2 separate regions of the Homo sapiens genome follow, and region 1 is linked to region 2. The links are contacts of gene promoters, found by promoter capture Hi-C in blood cells and fetal thymus (Javierre and others, 2016). All regions are on one chromosome and are shown on one strand. Each heading gives the region's core, a stretch centred on a gene start or on the middle of the fragment in contact. The rest is flanking DNA. Distances are from core to core; before and after follow the strand shown. Region 1 has its middle 37 kb from the start of LINC02968. Region 2 holds the start of CD99 (CD99 molecule (Xg blood group)).

Region 1 (2,700 bases), core at 31-2,530, 920 kb before region 2:
TGGCCAGGCTGGTCTTAAACTTCTGACCGCAGGTGATCTGCCTGCCTCGGCCTCCCAAAGTGCTGGGATTATAGGTGTGAGCCACCACGCCCAGCCTATTCATTTATTTGTTATTTGTTTATTTTTATTTTTAGAGATGGGGTCTCAGTCTGTGGCCCAGGCTGCAGTGAAGTGGAAGGAGGAAAAGAATGGGACCTATTTCACCTGGAGTGTCGCATCCACCAATATCAATGCTGCTGAAATGAAGGAGATTCTCTCTCTCTTTCTCTCTAGAGGTGGGGTCTCTGTGGCCCAGGCTGTAGTGCAGTGGGGCCATCATGGCTCACTGTAGGCTTGGCCCCCAGCCTGAAGCAATCCTCCCATCTCAGCCTCCCAAATAGGCCTGACTGCAGATGCTTACCACCACACCTGGCTAAATTTTCTATTTTTATTATTTTATTTTATTTTTTGAGATGGATTCTTGCTCTGTCGCCCAGGCTGCAGTGAAGTGGCATGATCTTGGCTCACTGCAACCTCTGCCTACCGGGTTCAAGTGATGCTCCTGCCTCAGCCTCCCAAGTAGCTGAGACTACAGGTGTGCACCACCACGCCCGGCTAATTTTTGTATTTTTAGTAGAGACGGGGTTTCACAATGTAGGCTAGGATGGTCTGGATCTCTTGATCTCATGATCCACCCTCCTTGGCCTCCCAAAGTGCTGGGACTACAGGCGTGAGCCACTGTGCCCAGCCCCCCTCCCCCACCCTTTTTTTTAAAAGTCTTCTGCAGTGGGCTGAAGTATGTCTCTGCAAAGTTTATGTCCACCAGAACCTCAGAAGGGAAACTTATTTGGAAATAAAGTCTTCGTGGACGTCGTTAAGATGAGGTTGCACTGGAATAGAGTGGGCCCTAAATCCAATGACTGGAGCCCTTGTAAGAAAAAAAGAGAACACACAAAGGAGAAGATGGAGACAGAGGTTGGACTGACACATCTATGAACCAAATGTGTTTGTCTGTTTTTATGCTGCTATAAGAAATACCTGAGTACCTGAGACTCAGGTATTTCTTGCTGCTATAAGAAATACCTGAGTACCTGAGACTGAGTAATTTATTAAGGAAAGAGGTTGAATCAACTCACACTTCCACATAGCTGGGAAAGTCTCAGGAAACTTACAGTCATGGCAGAAGTCAAAGGGGAAGCAAGCACTTCTTCACAAGCTGGTAGGAGAGACAGAGAGTGAGGGGGGAATAGCTAAACACTTATAAAATCATGAGATCGGCCGGCACGTGGTGGCCCATGCCTGCAATCCCAGCCCTTTGGGAGGCTGAGGCGGGTGGGTCACCTGAGGTCAGGAGTTCAAGACCAACCTGACTTACATGGAGAAACACTGTCTCTACTAAAAATACAAAATTAGCCAGGCACAGTGGCTCATGCCTGTAATCCCAGCTACTTGGGAGGCTGAGGCAGGAGAATTGCTTGAACCCGGGAGGCGGAGGTTGCAGTGAGCCAAGATCATGCCATTGCACTCCAGCCTGGGCAACAATAGTGAAACTCCATCTCAAAAACAAAAAACAAAAAAAAAAGAAAACAAAATCATATCTCATGAGCATTCACTCACTATCATGAGAACAGCATGGGGGAAACTGCCTCCCTGATCCAGTCACCTCCCACCAGTTCCCTCCTTGTACACCTGGGGATTTGACATGAGATTTGGGTGGGGGCACAGATGCAAACTATATCGCCAGGCATGCTGAATTAACCGCTTCCCATACCCACATGTAAAACTTCAAAGCTGTCAGTAACGCCTCACGCATGATCCTCTTCCATCAATCCCACCTCCAGTTACGGCCAGAGAAGACACAAGACCCCAGTTCAAAAAACTGTCTTTTTTGTGGAGCTCTTCTTTCTACTAAGACTTTAGTTGTGTATATCAATTGTGACTTCAATTACGTATAATGGATCTCTCCCGATTTGGGTGAGATTACAATTCCTGATGAGATTTGGGTGGGGACACAGAGCCAACCATATAATTGATATGAGCAGGGGGGCTGGTGAAAGGTGATTGGATGACGGGGGCAGAGTTCTCGTGAATGGTTTTCATGAATGGTTTCGCACCATTACCCCCTTGGTACTACAGTAACCGAGTTCTCATGAGATCTGGTTGTTTAAAACTGTGTAACACTTTTTCTGTCTTCTCTCTTCCTCCTGCTCTGGCTAGGTAAGACACTTGTTCTCACTTTGCCTTCTGCCATGTTTGTAAGTTTCCTGATGTCTCCTCTGAGCCTCCAGAAGGAACCAAGCCTACTGATACCTTGATCTCAGCTGTTGGCCTCCAGAAGTTCGAGAGAACAGACGTCTGCTGTTTCAAGCCACGCAGTTGTTGGTATTTTTCTACAACAGCATCTGAATCCTAATGCATGCCCTCTAACTGTGGGATCGATTTTGGGGTGCTGAGATGTGGCCTGTTTCTCCTATGACCTTCCTTGTGTTTTTAGTGCTCTTGGAAGAAGAGAGAATTAAGCATAGAATACCCACAGAGAGGAATCTCTCTTTCTTTTTTTTTTTCTTTGAGACAGAGTCTTGCTCTGTCACCAGGCTGGGAGTTCAGTGGCACGATCTCGGCTCACTGCAACATCCGTCTCTCAGATTCAAGCAATTCTCCTGTCTCAGCCTCCCAAGTAGCAGGGACTACAGGCGCATGCCACCACGGCCGGCTGATTTT
Region 2 (2,706 bases), core at 86-2,585:
CCAAAGCGCTGGGATTCCAGGCGTGAGCCACCGCGCCCGGCCTAGTTTGACTCTTTTCGTGGACAGTTTGAAGTGTGGAATGCAAGAATATTCAGGGTTATTTGTCAGGCTGCAAAGTTGTTCCACTACCCTGCGGGAAAATGGATACAATTTTAGGCTTAGGTGTTAACAGATAACATTGTTAAGTGTGGGAAGGGCGACAACTGCACTGCAGCTGTGGCCAGTGGCGCGGGAGGGTGTCTAAACTCAAAGCCCACTGGAAGGCGAGTCGCCCATGACCAGGACTAGGGCCCAGGTGCCCCAGATAGAAGGCACCTCGTTCCCTATTGCCCCTCACTAACTCCCGTGACCAGGAGTCCCCACTCCCAACCTTGTCCTGGGGATTCTGGGGAGAAACTGCCCCAGCGCAGAGGCTACTCCAAGGGTTGTCCTTGGTCCGGCGCAAAGGGTTCGTCCGCCACCCTCCCGGCTGCGCACCCCGCGCTCGGACGCTCTAGAAAGGACTTGGGACGGGGGTTGCCTGTGGAGCGGGGGCCTAGGCTTCCTGAGCAGGGAGAGGATTGCACTTTGCTCCCCTTGGGGAACTCCCTGAGGTGAGCAGCGGGGAGGGGCCCCCATACTTTTCCCAGCAGGGGAGCCGGGAGTTTCCTCTGCTCCCACTGCAGAGCAGGGGAGGGTCCCTGCTAGGGGCGGAGAAGGGGCTGCAGGGGCGAGTGGGGAGGGGGGCTACACGTTTCCAAGAAGGGCGGCAGTTTCGTGTCGCTACAGTTGCAGGCGTGCATTTAGGAGGCTGTAGACAGGGAGGGACCCGCACTTTCCCGAGCAGGGGAGCTGCTGGGAAAGTTTGTTTTTTTGCTCCCACTGGAGACCAGGGGGTGAGGGGCGGAGAAGTGGCTGCAGGGGCGAGTGGGGAGAGGGGGCTCTATGTTTCCAAGAAGGGCGGCAGTTTTGTGCCACTACAGTTAAGGGCCGCCCTCGGGCGTGCATTCAGAGGGCTGTAAACCGGGAGGGACCCGCACTTTCCCGAGAACGTTGTAGTTCACTTTGCTTCGGGTCGGCGCCGCCCTGGCTACGGCCCTGTGGGTGGGTGAGGGGGCGTGGGCAGTTTCCTGAGAAGGGGCGGGGCGTGTACCGTACTCCCCTCGGCGCTGCCTGGGCCACCCCCGCCCGCCTACCCCCTCTGTCTCCTCCCCGGGCCCGGCGTTCCCGCCCCTTCTGTGCGCGCGTGGAGGCCGGGGCGGGGCGGGCGCAGCCGGCGCTGAGCTTGCAGGGCCGCTCCCCTCACCCGCCCCCTTCGAGTCCCCGGGCTTCGCCCCACCCGGCCCGTGGGGGAGTATCTGTCCTGCCGCCTTCGCCCACGCCCTGCACTCCGGGACCGTCCCTGCGCGCTCTGGGCGCACCATGGCCCGCGGGGCTGCGCTGGCGCTGCTGCTCTTCGGCCTGCTGGGTGTTCTGGTCGCCGCCCCGGGTGAGCGAGCGGAGGGATCCGGGTTGGGGGACGCGGAGGGCGCGGGCCGGGACTGGGGATCCGCTTGAGATGCGGCGTTGGGGGCGCCCCGCGGGGACACCCGGAGCCTCCTCCCTGCCCGGCAGGACGCGCTGTGCCCACGGGGGCCCAGGCCCGGAGGAGGCGCCCACTTTCTCCCCAACGCTTTTCCTGGAGCCGTTCCAGAGAGAAAAGTCAGCGTTTGTTGTCGGAGTTGCAAACTCTTACATGTGGGGCGGCCTTGGGAGAGGTGCGTCCGATTTTTCCCAATCTAGGGGACCTTCTTACAGATCTCTCTCCCTTTGCATGAGCCCCTCACCCCACCCCGTTATCTACCCCCAGGGTTTGGGGACCTGCGTCTTCAGGCCGCGCGCGGAGGCCGCCCTGGAGTTGCCTGTCACAGCCACGCCCTGCGTCCCGGGCCTAAATTTGGAATCGCTAGGAGCCTGAGACCCGGGTGGTGGGGGGAAGGGAAGGAAAAGTTAGAAAAAAACTTTGAGCCCTGAAAATGTTCAAAAATACTCTGTGGATGCGGGCTCCGGGAATTTCAGCGCGTGCTGTGCGCCAAGCAACACGGGGCGCAGAAAGAAACGTGTGCTTACCAAATTGTCCATCTGCGGCGGTGGAGAATTCGGAAAACAGAAAAAGTGGGCAGGGAAGAAAGAGCCACGGTCACCCTCCCACGCCCTAAACCGGGCCTATTTCTAATTATTACTTTAATCATGTTTTTCTGTTTCCCTCCCTTTGAAACGGAAACGGAGACCCTGCCGGATGTGGTATGTTATAAATTCTTTTTTCATGTTATAAATTCTTTTTTCAATGGTCAGTGCATTTTTTGCTCTTCGTATGGGCAGGCTTTTAAGTAGACCGGCTTGCGGGCAGTGTGGACTTCAGGACGGGCCTTATCAGGGCTGGACGTATTTAGGAAGGAGACGCGGGAACGCCCGGCCCTGGGGAGGACGGAGGAGGCCCGATTTGTGTTGATAGGATCTAGCTCAGCCTAGAGCTGCGGTGACTAGGCCGGGTCTCTATTTTTAGGGAGGAGTTGCTAATGGATTTACACCCTCTTTAAAGGGGTCCCGGGTATCCTAGAAATTGTGCTTTCACTTGGTAGAGATTAGAGATAATGAAGCCTGCTCCGTAGAGGAAAACTTGGAGGACTTTCCAGCCTGCAGGGGAGGTTCCAAGCAGAGCTTCCTGTTTCTCCCTTTTCTTCCTAA

Evidence for each region. Contacts are between HindIII fragments. The CHiCAGO score rates a contact against its expected background, and 5 or more counts as called.
Region 1: a contact is called between a fragment that was not itself captured here and the fragment with the promoter of CD99 in region 2, in 1 of 17 cell types (neutrophils). The highest score is 5.2, in neutrophils.

Annotation. Positions count from the first base shown.
Region 1 is chrX:1,768,301-1,771,000 of GRCh38, forward strand. No RefSeq gene overlaps it. Among named protein-coding and RNA genes, the nearest start is that of LINC02968, 37 kb to the left of the region's middle. The HindIII fragment of the contact is 8,292 bases long and covers 1-2,700 here.
Region 2 is chrX:2,689,960-2,692,665 of GRCh38, forward strand. It overlaps CD99 (CD99 molecule (Xg blood group)), which reads left to right and starts at 1,336. Exons shown (of 10, transcript NM_002414.5): 1 at 1,336-1,468. The coding sequence starts at 1,402. The HindIII fragment of the contact is 9,076 bases long and covers 1-2,706 here.